Linked DNA regions of Homo sapiens: all the other regions are linked to region 3. Evidence: promoter capture Hi-C in 16 types of primary human blood cells and fetal thymus (Javierre and others, 2016). All regions are on one chromosome and are shown on one strand. Each heading gives the region's core, a stretch centred on a gene start or on the middle of the fragment in contact. The rest is flanking DNA. Distances are from core to core; before and after follow the strand shown.

The links. Contacts are between HindIII fragments. The CHiCAGO score rates a contact against its expected background, and 5 or more counts as called.
Region 1: a contact is called between the fragment with the promoter of FUBP1 here and the fragment with the promoter of PIGK in region 3, in 8 of 17 cell types (fetal thymus, total B cells, naive CD8 T cells and 5 more). The highest score is 11.1, in fetal thymus.
Region 2: a contact is called between the fragment with the promoter of NEXN here and the fragment with the promoter of PIGK in region 3, in 2 of 17 cell types (erythroblasts and total B cells). The highest score is 11.0, in erythroblasts.

The regions. Positions count from the first base shown.
Region 1 is chr1:77,976,394-77,980,462 of GRCh38, reverse strand. It overlaps FUBP1 (far upstream element binding protein 1), which reads left to right and starts at 1,391. Exons shown (of 20, transcript NM_003902.5): 1 at 1,391-1,578. The coding sequence starts at 1,459. It also overlaps a transcript of DNAJB4 not described here. RefSeq lists enhancers at 918-977, 988-1,137, 1,448-1,577, 1,588-1,647, 1,658-1,707 and 1 more. The HindIII fragment of the contact is 9,300 bases long and covers 1-4,069 here.
Region 2 is chr1:77,887,275-77,891,373 of GRCh38, reverse strand. It overlaps NEXN (nexilin F-actin binding protein), which reads right to left and starts at 2,750. Exons shown (of 13, transcript NM_144573.4): 1 at 2,615-2,750. NEXN-AS1 (NEXN antisense RNA 1) reads left to right here and starts at 1,835. Exons shown (of 3, transcript NR_103535.1): 1 at 1,835-1,906; 2 at 2,106-3,774. RefSeq lists a silencer at 2,366-2,505 and an enhancer at 2,746-2,805. The HindIII fragment of the contact is 9,507 bases long and covers 1-3,582 here.
Region 3 is chr1:77,217,420-77,221,145 of GRCh38, reverse strand. It overlaps PIGK (phosphatidylinositol glycan anchor biosynthesis class K), which reads left to right and starts at 1,716. Exons shown (of 11, transcript NM_005482.3): 1 at 1,716-1,836. The coding sequence starts at 1,744. It overlaps LOC105378808 (a long non-coding RNA gene), which reads right to left and starts at 1,626. Exons shown (of 3, transcript XR_001738109.2): 1 at 1,493-1,626; 2 at 153-358. RefSeq lists an enhancer at 1,923-2,032. The HindIII fragment of the contact is 2,966 bases long and covers 788-3,726 here.

The DNA.
Region 1 (4,069 bases), core at 142-2,641, 760 kb before region 3:
AATTACATGCCACGATATGTTGGAGAAGGTCTGAAGAAATGTCTGGCATTACTTGGTAACTGAAGTACATAACATAAAATACCAATTTACACACACACACACACACACACACACACACACACATATATATATATATATACCTAGTCCTGTGATGACAATTCAGAATATGATCTTACATTTGAGTACCCACAGGATGGGGTGGGAGAAACTACGCCTAAGAAGCTACAAAATCTATTTTGGTCAAGAAACAATGCTGTTCTTAACTTAAGAGACCTTAACAGGCCGGGCGCAGTGCCTCGCGCCTATAATCCTAGCATTCTGGGAGGCCGAGGCGGGTGGATCACGAGGTCACGAGATCGAGACCATCCTGGCTAACACGGTGAAACCCCGTCTCTACTACAAACGCAAAAAATTAGCCCAGACGTGGTGGCAGGCGCCTGTTGTCCCAGCTACTCGGGAGGCTGAGGCAGGAGAATCGCTTGAACCCAGGAGGCGGAGGATGCAGTGAGCCGAGACCGCGCCACTGCACTCCAGCCTGGGTAACAGAGCGAGACTCTCAAAACAAACAAACAAACAAAAAAAAACCCTTAATAAAAATGGCCATGGACACATACATATACTAGGTTATTAAATCTGGCTAACACTGAACTTTAAGAACAATCACGTTTTTGGATAAAGAAAAGGGCAGTCATACTTTTAGAGCCTCATCCACATTATTTTAAACAAAAAACTTAAAATATGGTCGAGAACTAACAGGCTTCCAGCCTGAATTCAACACCCACCCTCGTGATAAAACTAAAAAATCGGACAGTCTGTAAGTAAAATACAGGGACACTTTACTACCCTGAAAATCATGCTGGGTTCCCGCTACGCCGGGCAGACGTTTTCAGGAGCATCACCGCGCGGCGTCTCGGACGCACTTCTCCTGGCGCCCTCCGGGCGGCAGCGCTCTCGAGACACTGTTGCTTCGCCGTCACGCCCGTCGTTGTCACGCCCTTCCCCGCGGACACCGAGAATGACCCATAGCGGAAAATTCTACCGCACTACCTCCCTGAGGCAGCGACCGGTAAGAAACAACCTTTTCTTCAGGCTTCCCACCACCCAAACACAGTCGCAGTCAACTGGCCACTATCACCCACCACCCTGCAGGAACAATTACCCAGCCTCACCCCAAGAACGCGCGGAGAGGAGGTGCCAAAAGAAATTCTGTTCTCGCGAAGTCTTAAACTTAATCCTCGCGACGTCTCTGTTCCTGTCGTTCTTTCTCAGCCCTAACCCACACCAGCGCGTTGCCTCGGAAACATCGCGAGATTTTGTTCCTTCAGTCTCCGCCCCTTTACGGCACGATGGTCGCGCAAGAATGTAATAGAGCTTCGACGGCCGCCATTTTCTTTCTTTCTTAGCTGTTAGCTGAGAGGAAGTCTCTGAACAGGCGGCAGCGGCTCTTATAGTGCAACCATGGCAGACTATTCAACAGTGCCTCCCCCCTCTTCTGGCTCAGCTGGTGGCGGTGGTGGCGGCGGTGGTGGTGGAGGAGTTAACGACGCTTTCAAAGATGCACTGCAGAGAGCCCGGCAGGTAAGTGTGGACCGCGCGGCGGAATCCCGAAAGCTCACGGTAATTGGCCGCTGACTGAGTAGGCCGCTACCCTTAAGCGCATGAGGAAGAGGAAAGAGGTGTTCTTCCGGGCTGAAATGTGAAGAGACACGTTTCCCCATGTTGGTAATAACGATTAGAGACCAGAACCCAGTTTTGTGTTCTTGGTGCCTAATCCACTTAGAACCCCGACGCGTGCTACGCAAAGAAGGCCTGAAGTCTTTCTCCCGCTTCTGCGGCACTCGCGTGTCTCCAGTGAGCTAGTTTAGATAAAGATCCTCTTCCAGGGGATAAAGCGCAGTTAGTTTCACACAATTTAATGGAAGGTTCTGGTAATGAGTTTGGGAAAGAACTAGGGTCTGTCCTGGAGCCATAGCAAGGGAAGGGATTTATCATTAAAGTAGCCTTTACAGCTCATTTCCGTTCTCTCTCGCAATTAAAACCGCTTTCAGTACCATTCACCGTCACACCTCTACAAGGAAGGGACTTGAAAGCAGCCTTTTTCTGGGCGGGATTTACGTGTCAGTCTGTTCCACCAGTCCGCCCCCCTTATTTCTCAAAATGGCCTCAGGCCCATTATACCAGAGGTTTCAATTTGAATCTGCCTCTCAGTTCAGAGTCGTAAACTGACCAGACCTCTTTGTATTACGTAGTGCGTGCATTTGCCCTGAAGGCACCACTTTCCCAGACGAAAGCTGTTAAAATAGTGCGTGTATTCCAGGAAAATAAAAGATACCTTAATTTGAACTTTACATTCTTAGATAGTCCCCTAATATATTTAACATTTCAAAATGTATGGTGTTGGTATAGATTTGCATGTAAGCAAAAGAATCCTATTCTCTGTGACACTATGCATATTGTACTAGGTGCTGGGCATTTTTTACTAGTTTTAAGCTAATGATAATTAGAAACCAGTGTTGTGCTGTGTTTTCGTTGCATTAGGAGTTCACTTAGTTAACTTTTTACCGGGACAGTTGAAGGAACATTGAGTCAAAATTAGAATTCATAAAATCCGTTGTAACACATCTAATGTGAACGCATTATAAACATGTACCTGTACTTTTTTATAACCAGAAATACTAGGAGTAGTCAACAAAAGGTCATCATTAATATTAGTTCTGCGGTTTTTTCCACGTAATTTAAGAAATTCTGAACATGTTTAGCAACAAGCATATAACTATGACAAACACTCTTAGCGTGTTTTATTAGATTGATTTGTAAAACTTAAGGGAACTATTTTATTTACTGGAACCAACTATTTTATTTTACCAGAACCAGCACATTGGATTAATTGGTATCGCACACTGTAGGTAGATACTGGAGTTTTGTTTTGTTTTGTTTGAGACGGAGTCTCCCTCTGTCGCCCAGACTGGAGTGCAGTGGTGCGATCTCGTCCCACTGCAACCTCTGCCTCCCGGCTTCAAGCAATTCTCCTGCCTCAGCCTCCCGAGTAGCTGGGATTACAGGCGCCCGCCACCATGCCCGGCTAATTTTTTGTGTTTTTTTTGTTTGTTTGTTTGTTTTCAGTAGAGACAGGGTTTCACCATGCTGGCCAGGCTGGTCTCGAACTCCTGACCTCGTGATCCGCCCGTCTTGGCCTCCCAAAGCTGGGATTACAGGCGTGAGCCGCTGCGCCCGGCCTTGTTTTTTTTCGTTTGTTTGTTTTAATGCATGAATTGTTTCCTACTAAGAAGCTATGATATAGTTCCTTGACCAAATGCAGATGAACAGGATTATCTGATTAATACTTTAACGAGAGCAGACAAAATATGGATATTTAATTCATCCACTTGCTTTATAAGTGTTTATAGAGTTTGTTAGGAGGGGATGCCCAATTTCCTAAGTAAAGGTGATATATGAGCAAGACATTATAAAATGAAAGAGAGTTTGGCCAGTGAAGAAAAGAAGCAGCATGCGCAGAGGTGTGGGGACTTGAGGGAATGGCAAGGACCCAGAAGTGAAGTCGCTAGAAGATGGGGGTGGGAGGACGTGAAACGAGGCAAGGAAAGGTACAAGCGGATCCAGATACTGGAAGACCTTGTGTTGCAATGCTTTAATTAAAAATTGGATTTCAGGCCGGGTACGGTGGCTCACGCCTGTAGTCCCAGCACTTTGGGAGGCTGAGGCAGGCAGATCACTTGAAGTCGGAGTTTAAGACCAGCCTGGCCAACATGGTGAAACCCCATCTTTACAAAAAATACAAAAAGTAGCCGGGCTTGGTGGCCTGTGCCTGTAGTCCTAGCTACTTGGGAGGCTGAGGCACAAGAACCGCTTCAACCTGGGAAGTGGAGGTTGCAGTGAGTGGAGATCACGCTGCTGCACTCCAGCCTGGTCATAGAGCGAGACCCTGTCTCAAAAAAAAAAAAATTGGATTTTATTATTAGGCTAAGCCATAATTTCTTTATACTTCTTAAAATATAGAAATTGTTGGCAAATTGTGAAATTTATTGTTGTATAATGCTAATAGATCAGT
Region 2 (4,099 bases), core at 1,501-4,000, 670 kb before region 3:
AGATATGTCAATGCAAAAAGAAAGAGTTCTATGCATGGGAAAAAGACTTAAAGGAAATACATCAAAATCCTAACAGTAAGAGTGTCAGATTACAAGAGCCCCTTTTTCCATTCTCCATAATTTTTAACCATAAATATAACATGGTGTATTAACATTATAATACAAATTAAACTAAAATTTAAGGTGGATTTCTGGGTACAAATCCACCCACCCTGGAGTATAGAAAGTAAACTACTATAAATTAAGCCAAACTATACACTGAATATTTAAATAATAAAGGAAAATGTAGCCATTTCAAATGTATATAATATGTAACTATGCAATTATAAACCCAGAAAGAGAACATGAAAGAAACTACACAGGTGATATGGACCGCAGATTGATTAAATAAGAACAGAAATATGTGAAATTGTTAAGAATGTTATAAATCATTTTCTCTCCAAATTATAAACTACCAAGATGTTCTGTGTGTGTGTGGCCTACATAACTATAAAATAACAGTCCTCTCTTCTATAAAAACGTTTAGACTTTTACCTGTCTGTTACATACTTTTCCACATTCACTGCATTATTTTCTTTCTTTTAGGTGTGCACAACTCTCATATTTAAATAATCCCCCTTTTTTTTGTCTTTTAGGGTATTTCAAAGATAACAGGTATTTTTTTTAATAAATGAAGTATGTCATTATAGGCCGCTCAGATTCTAAGCAATCTGAATCCCCAATTAATGTCTTCCAAATATGCATATTTAGTTTTTATTCTGCTCAAAAATGAAACCCTAACCTAAATACTTCAAGTGAAATTTCAGGGGAAAAAGACTGTTCAAAAACCTAGATAATGCATTCCTTTGTTGATGCTAAATATAGTCATCTCAAGATGACATACATTTTGACAATGATCAGCCTTACATGTCAAATTTTCAAAAATAGCACAAATTCCATTTTAAGGTGAGCAGGAACAATTGCTATTCATTACATTTCAATTGAAAATGGATTTTAAAATATGAATCTTTTATTAAAACTGGATTACATTGTAACTATGATGAGGAAAACTGGATTTAAAATAATTTTGTTGTGGTTTTAGCTTAGAATTCTTTAAGGGAATTGCAGATAAACTACATAATTGCATGCATTTTTCTTTAAATTGTTCCTCAGAAGCATTAGTCAAAATATAAAATATCTGCAAAAATACGGTGTTAATTGTAAGGAAGAAGAAACTTAAACAGCTACATTGGTTAATCAAAGTTTACTTATACAAATTATACCTCCCCCCAAAAAACCTTTCTCTCATTTGATTAATTATGCATTTTTTCTTAACAATACCCCAAACTCAAAAGAATTTGAGACAAAGTTTTCTAACTGCAGCAGTTTAACCTGTAAAGGATAATGTTTAGCGGGGGAAATTATGTGGTCCACTCAATAACGTGTGACTAAGATATAAATAACGTGTGACTAAGATATGAACTTAAGTATAAATACTTAAGTTTATTTAATCACATTACCTAAGACATAGTTATGTTGTGACTCGAAGGCCAATGGGCCGCTGCTACATGAATTCATTAACAAAATTTAACGATGAATGATATTCCCGTTGTTTTGGTCAGGGAACTAATTTCTTTATTATGGCTTCTTTTCTCTACCTGTGTCTTCACCAAGGACATTTTGTTAGGACATATCCTTATGCTATTTTTACCTTGTTATCTCTCTGCCAACTTGGTTCACGTTGTGCTTTAATAACTATAAAATGAGCATCTCTAAGTCACTGCAGTAACCAACTATAACCTCTCAACTTCGTCATTTTCTTTATAAATGCCAATGCTAATGCATTTGTAGAACGTTTCACAATTTACAAACAGCTGGAATGGTTTGGCGTTTTCAAAAGCATATAGGCAAAGGGAGTTCTCAAGAGGTGACTACATTCTTCACTCACTTAAACTACGTAAACTTCGTAAACTTCCAGCCCTAGTTGCTCAACCCCCAGCATCCCACCTCGGGCAGAATCACGAAAAAAAAAAAAAAAAGGGTTGGAGACAGGAGTGGGGGGATATGCGGGGGTGTGGGGGGGGAGTAATAGGCTGTTAAATCATATTTCTCCCCATCTTCCACAGAGACCGATCAGAAAGGATTTCTTAACTGGCACTGCTGGCAGAGACGGAGACCGCGGCTGGGGCAAGTGGTGGGGGACGGCACTGAACTTCCCTAAGGACCCCAAGGGTTCAGCCGAGGGATCGGCACCCACTCCGCTCACAGAGGGCTCCCTCCCTACAGTAGGGAACGCACCCGAAACTCAGCCGACAAGGCGCAGGGGAGCAGGGCAAAGACATTGCAACCAGAAGCCCAAGGCCGGCCGACACTTTCAGACCCTGGGGCAGCCCCTGGTAGGCACCCCGCCGAGCCCGCAGGATGCGGCTCCAAGGCAGGGTTCGCCCGGGCCGGGGCCAGCGCGGACCACAGCTGTATGGCGCCCGGCGCCCTCCGGAGCTGCAGCGGAGCACGGCCAGAAGCCGCAGACCCCGAGCGCCTCTCTGCAGCCGCCGTTCCCGCCCCCGCCCCCACCAGGGGACCCGACACCTCCGTCTCCACTCCCCCCAGCCCACGTTCCCCCAACTCTTCTCACCCTGCAGGAGCCGGTGACCGGCGAAGGTACTTCTTTCCGCGTGGAGGGACTGTGCGCGTCCCGCCTGGCTGTGGGTAGGGGTCTGGGAGCTCTGGCCGCTAACACTTCTGCTCCAGCCGCTGGGAGTCCTCTGGCTGCCGCTGCCGCCGCCGCCGCCGCCGTCTCCAGCAGCAAGTTTCCATAAAAGTCCTGGTGTGCAGCCTGTTCCCGCATTCCAGGCGGGCCCAGCGCCGGCTGCAGCTGTTCCAAAACACAAGGCCAGTTCCCCCAACCCCCCACCTCCGCCGTTATCACCCGGAGTGGGGGTGGAGAGTTGAGGAGAAAAGCAGGGGAGGGGGACCGTGGCTGCCAACTTTCCGCCAGAATTTGTCTGTCTCCCGGCCCTAGGTGCGCGAGCTGACCCCCTAACTTTGGGCCTGCCTCCACCTCCAGCCAGGCCTGGGGAAGGAAGGCTGCCTCCGCCATGGGAAAGGAATGAGGCTGAAATGGGCTTCATTACCGGGCTGAAGCTGGCTCCCCCTACCCGCAACCAGTTTGCTCTGGGGCCCACTTCTCTCAGCTACTCTACCCGTCCTAGTTTCCAGTCAAGAAGCCAAGCCACTACATATCTTCTACTACCCTAAGCATTGACCTTTGGCCAAGTTTTCCTTTATTACAAAGAGCGTGGGGCAGCAATCCGGGAACACTTCATCTGTCTATTGCTCCCCTGTTCTTAGCTCCAGTCTTTAACTCTAAAAGGAGAGTTAAAAAAGAAGAAGAAGAAGAAGAAGAAGAAGAAGAAGAAGAAGAAGAAGAAGAAGAAGAAGAAGAAGAAGAAGAAGAAGAAGAAGAAGAAGAAGAAGAAGAAAGTTGAAGGCAGAGGAGGAGGAGGAGAAGAAAAGAAGGAATATATTTATATAAGTACAAATATCTTTATATTCCACCTTTTTCTTAATTGAAGGCAAACCATATCTGGTCTTTCTAAAGCTTCATAAAGGCATCTTTGACTATTAGACACCCACAGACCTTTTTCAACTTGGACCGCCAGCCTGTCAAACCCATCAGACAATACCATATTAAAACCCGAAATGCACACTCGGAGTATTTTTGGTGGACGAGATCTTTAATTCTTCACTGCACTTGAAAAAAAAATCGAAATGACATCCAGATAAAGAATAAAGGTAACCACTTCCACCTTCAGGCCCTAAGCAGACAGCGGTGCTCAGGTTATATTTCAGGGATGTTGAAAAGGCCTTCTGGGCTGGGCGCGGTGGCTCATGCCTGTGATCCCCGCACTTTGGGAGGCCGAGGCGGGTGGATCACTTGAGGTCAGGAATTCAAGACCAGCCTGACCAACATGGCAAAAGGCCGTCTTTACTAAAAATACAAAAAATTAGCCTAGTGTGGAGGCACACACCTGTAATCTGAGTTACTCAGGAGGCTGAGGCAGGAGAATCACTTGAAGCCAGGAGGCGGAGGTTGCAGTGAGCAGAGATCATCCCACTG
Region 3 (3,726 bases), core at 467-2,966:
TAGCAGTATGAAAATGGGTTAATACAAGTAAAGTCTCATCAAAGTGTGGGTATGAAGTTACATCTGGTCATGAATTTGAGGCATAATCATTAATCTTGTCAGACATTATCTTATGTACAGGAAGAGGCAAGGGCTAGGATCACCAAACTTACCTTTTGTAAAAATTCAGTGATTCAGGCAAGAGATGTGCAAACCTATTCCCTATCCTGCTTATGGTCTTCAAGGCATTCTTCCACAAGGCTGCTCACAGTCAATGAGTCAGGGGCTTTGTGAAATATTGCTGGCAAAGGAGCAGAATGAGCAAATGGCTTCTTATCTTTGCTACTTTGTTTCATAATCATCAGCATCCAATAGATATCTGTTGAATTAATGAATACATGGAAGATATTCTGGCAGTGTATTTACTTTCTAGGATTCACGTAACGGAAAACCTAAATTTGACTAAATAGCATGAAACCTCTCACAAAGTGCAATAGCAAAAGAAACAAATAAAAGGAAAAGAGAGACAAGAGAATGGGAAAAGCAATAGCATAAAATATGGCAAAGGCTAATGTTACTTATTTATAAATATATTATTCAAATTCATATGCAAAACATAAATATATAAACAAAGAATTTACATCAGAGGACACAGAGATAGTTTAGAAACACAAGAAAGACATCAGATCTTGATAGTAACCAAAGAATTATAAGTATAGTTACCTAGGGGTAACATTTCATACCAAAGAATTTAAAGGAAAAAAAATGGTATGGTTTGGTGTTGTGTATTCTGATAGTGCTGTAAGCTTGTTCATTTTGGAAAGCAACATCATTTATAGTTATTAAAATGTTTTGGAATATTTTGACCCCAAATTCCTAGTTCAGGAAAATTATACAAACAAAATAATTCAACAGATTTAAAAAGCCAAACACACAAAAGATACTCTTTACAATATTATTTTCATAGTAAAACTTAAAAACTTTGCATTGTGCAGCAGAGGGACAATTACTTTGGCTGAGGCATCAATAATGGATGGAATTTTATCTCACCATTAAATGTTAAAATTGTGAGGAAGCAGCGTGGAAACGTTTATGTCATACTAGATGAAATGCATAAATTAAAACTGAACTCACATAATAAAGAGAATGGTGGACCATACATATACACCAGCTGTGTCTCTTCCAGATAGGCTTTAGTTCCATAATTACAGAAGATACTCAAGAAACAAAAACGTAACTAGCTTCCCATGTTAATCCTTTCACCAGGTAGTAGACCCCAAGCCTCTAAATTGCAGCGCCCACCCACATTTTCCATTTATAGTTTATCCAATTAATCATCTTTTTGTGCCAAAACGCTTGTTCTTCCCACCACATCCAGCTTCATATTTTCAAAGAATTGGCAGCACTCGGCAAAATAAATAAATAAATAAATAAATAAATAAATAAAATAAATAAGGGAACAGAGAAATAAGTTTTTAAAGTTTAAGGAGTTACGGGTTTTCCCTCCACTCACCTTTCAATTTTTTTTCTTAAATGTTATACCTATTTTACAACCTCCAAACTGAAAATGCAGTTAAAAATAAAAAGGTCAATATCCTGCGTCTACCTTGTCCCGGACTCTCGAGCTCCACAAAACCGCAGAGTTCTAAAGCCGGACCAGAGGGCCACCTCGAAGAGGCGCGGATGGTGTCGCAAAAACCCGCAGCGCTACTTTACGGCACTGCCTCCGCCCCTTCAGGTGCGGGAAGTCTGAAGCCGGTAAACATGGCCGTCACCGACAGCCTCAGCCGGGCTGCGACTGTCTTGGCAACTGTGTTGCTCTTGTCCTTCGGCAGCGTGGCCGCTAGTCATATCGAGGTAGGAGTCAGGCTCATTTGACCACAGCCGGGAGGCCGGCTGTGAGCCCTCCAGCAGATGTCCGATACACAGTAGCTGAGGGACGCCTCCTGGAGTCAATCAGCCCCTGACCCAGGCTGGGTTTGAGGAGGGTATCACTGGGCACGGGTTAGGACACTGTTGGTCTGTTTCAGCGTTTTAAAACGATGAATTGAAATAATCAAACCCTCGGAGACAGAGGAGGACCTGATCCTTTGCTCCTACATGTGTGCAGTTCTTAGGTGAAATACGAGCAAGAGGCTCGTGAAATGTCAGTGTGCAGCAACTGCTTTCCTACTACTCAACTGCAGCCCTCTGTTTTGATAGGAGTCAGACGGAACTGGAGAGATGAGGGCAATTTTAAGAATCCAGATAATAGAATTTAGTGATAATTAGAACATGGGATAAATATAAGTGTTTATTAAAACTCTCAAGTTTCTGGCTTAGGGGCAACACGTCTGGGTTAAGAAATGGAAGAGAAAAGGGGTGCTTAGTTTTATCCTGGGCTCCTCCAGCTTCCCATTTTTAAACGTGGACACAGGATGTTCTGGTGCTCTATAATGCTTTTACTATTCACCATACTCTGATGATTCCTCAGTCCCGGTCTACAATCTAGATGTCTGGTATCTTTTTCAGGCCTGCATATCCAGCTGACTAAGAATCCGGGATAGTCAGGAGACATTTGAAAATCCGTGTGCAAAGTTTTATCTTCTGCTTATCCTACCTCCTCTTAAAAAGACACTGAAAAACTAAGCACCCCTTTTCTCCTCCATTTCTCAACCAGATGTGCTGCTCCTAAGCTAGAAACCTGAGAGTCTTAATCTCTTTATCCCATATTCTAATTATCACTAAATTTTGTGATCTGAGTTCTTAAAATTGCCCTCACCTCTCCAGTTCCACTGACTTAATTCAGGCTGTGATCACTTCTTGTCTAGACTCTTGCGATTACTTTATCTTGTTTTCCATAGGCCTCCATACTCCCTGAGTTTGGTGCTAGATTCGTCTACACGAAATGTAAGCCTGATCAGGTTATTCTTCTGATGAAATCTTTTAAATATTTATTAATTGCATACAGAATAAAGTCTAAACGTTATGACCTGGTGCTTGCCTACTTTTCCAGTGTTCCATATTGGAACCTCTTCTCCCCACCACCTGGGCACCTTGAGCTTAGACCAGTGGACTCCAAACTTTTTGAATACACACCCTATCAGTTAAAAAAAGATATTGAGCATGAACTTCATATATATTTATGAATTACTGTTAATTTATATATTTGATGTTTATATAGCATAATTTTTAGAGAACATAAATATGAGTAAATAGAAGTTCTGTTTCCCTCCTTTATTCTAACTTTGACTGCTTCATCTTGGATACTATTACTGTTTTTTGTAGTTACATAATTGCTGTGCTTTTTCACATTACAATATTTTATACATTGTGTTTCCTCTGTTCATGTGCTAAGATACAGTAAAGGCATAACCTCTGTAGAACGTTTCCCTATCTCTTACCTTTGCCTTTACTCTTGTAATTTGTACACTTGATACAGCACTCATTTACTATAACCCGTGTATGGTTTGTACTGTTATTCCATCATATCTCACTTAGAGATAGGAGCAACAGTTTCCTAAATGTTTTGCCTTGAGTCGTTGTTTTTTCCTTTCAATCTGTTCTCCAAATTGAAGCCAGAGTAACTTTTAAAAATGCAGTTCCAATCATGTCACCCAGGGACCTTGATGTTGCTCAAAAGATCACCTTAATGTTGCTCTAAACTCTCCACCATGACCCACAAACAAAAACCCTGCATATTTTTTGGGCCCTGACTACACTTCAAATTTTTTCTTTCTCTTTCAAACTTCTAGTTAGGCTAACTTT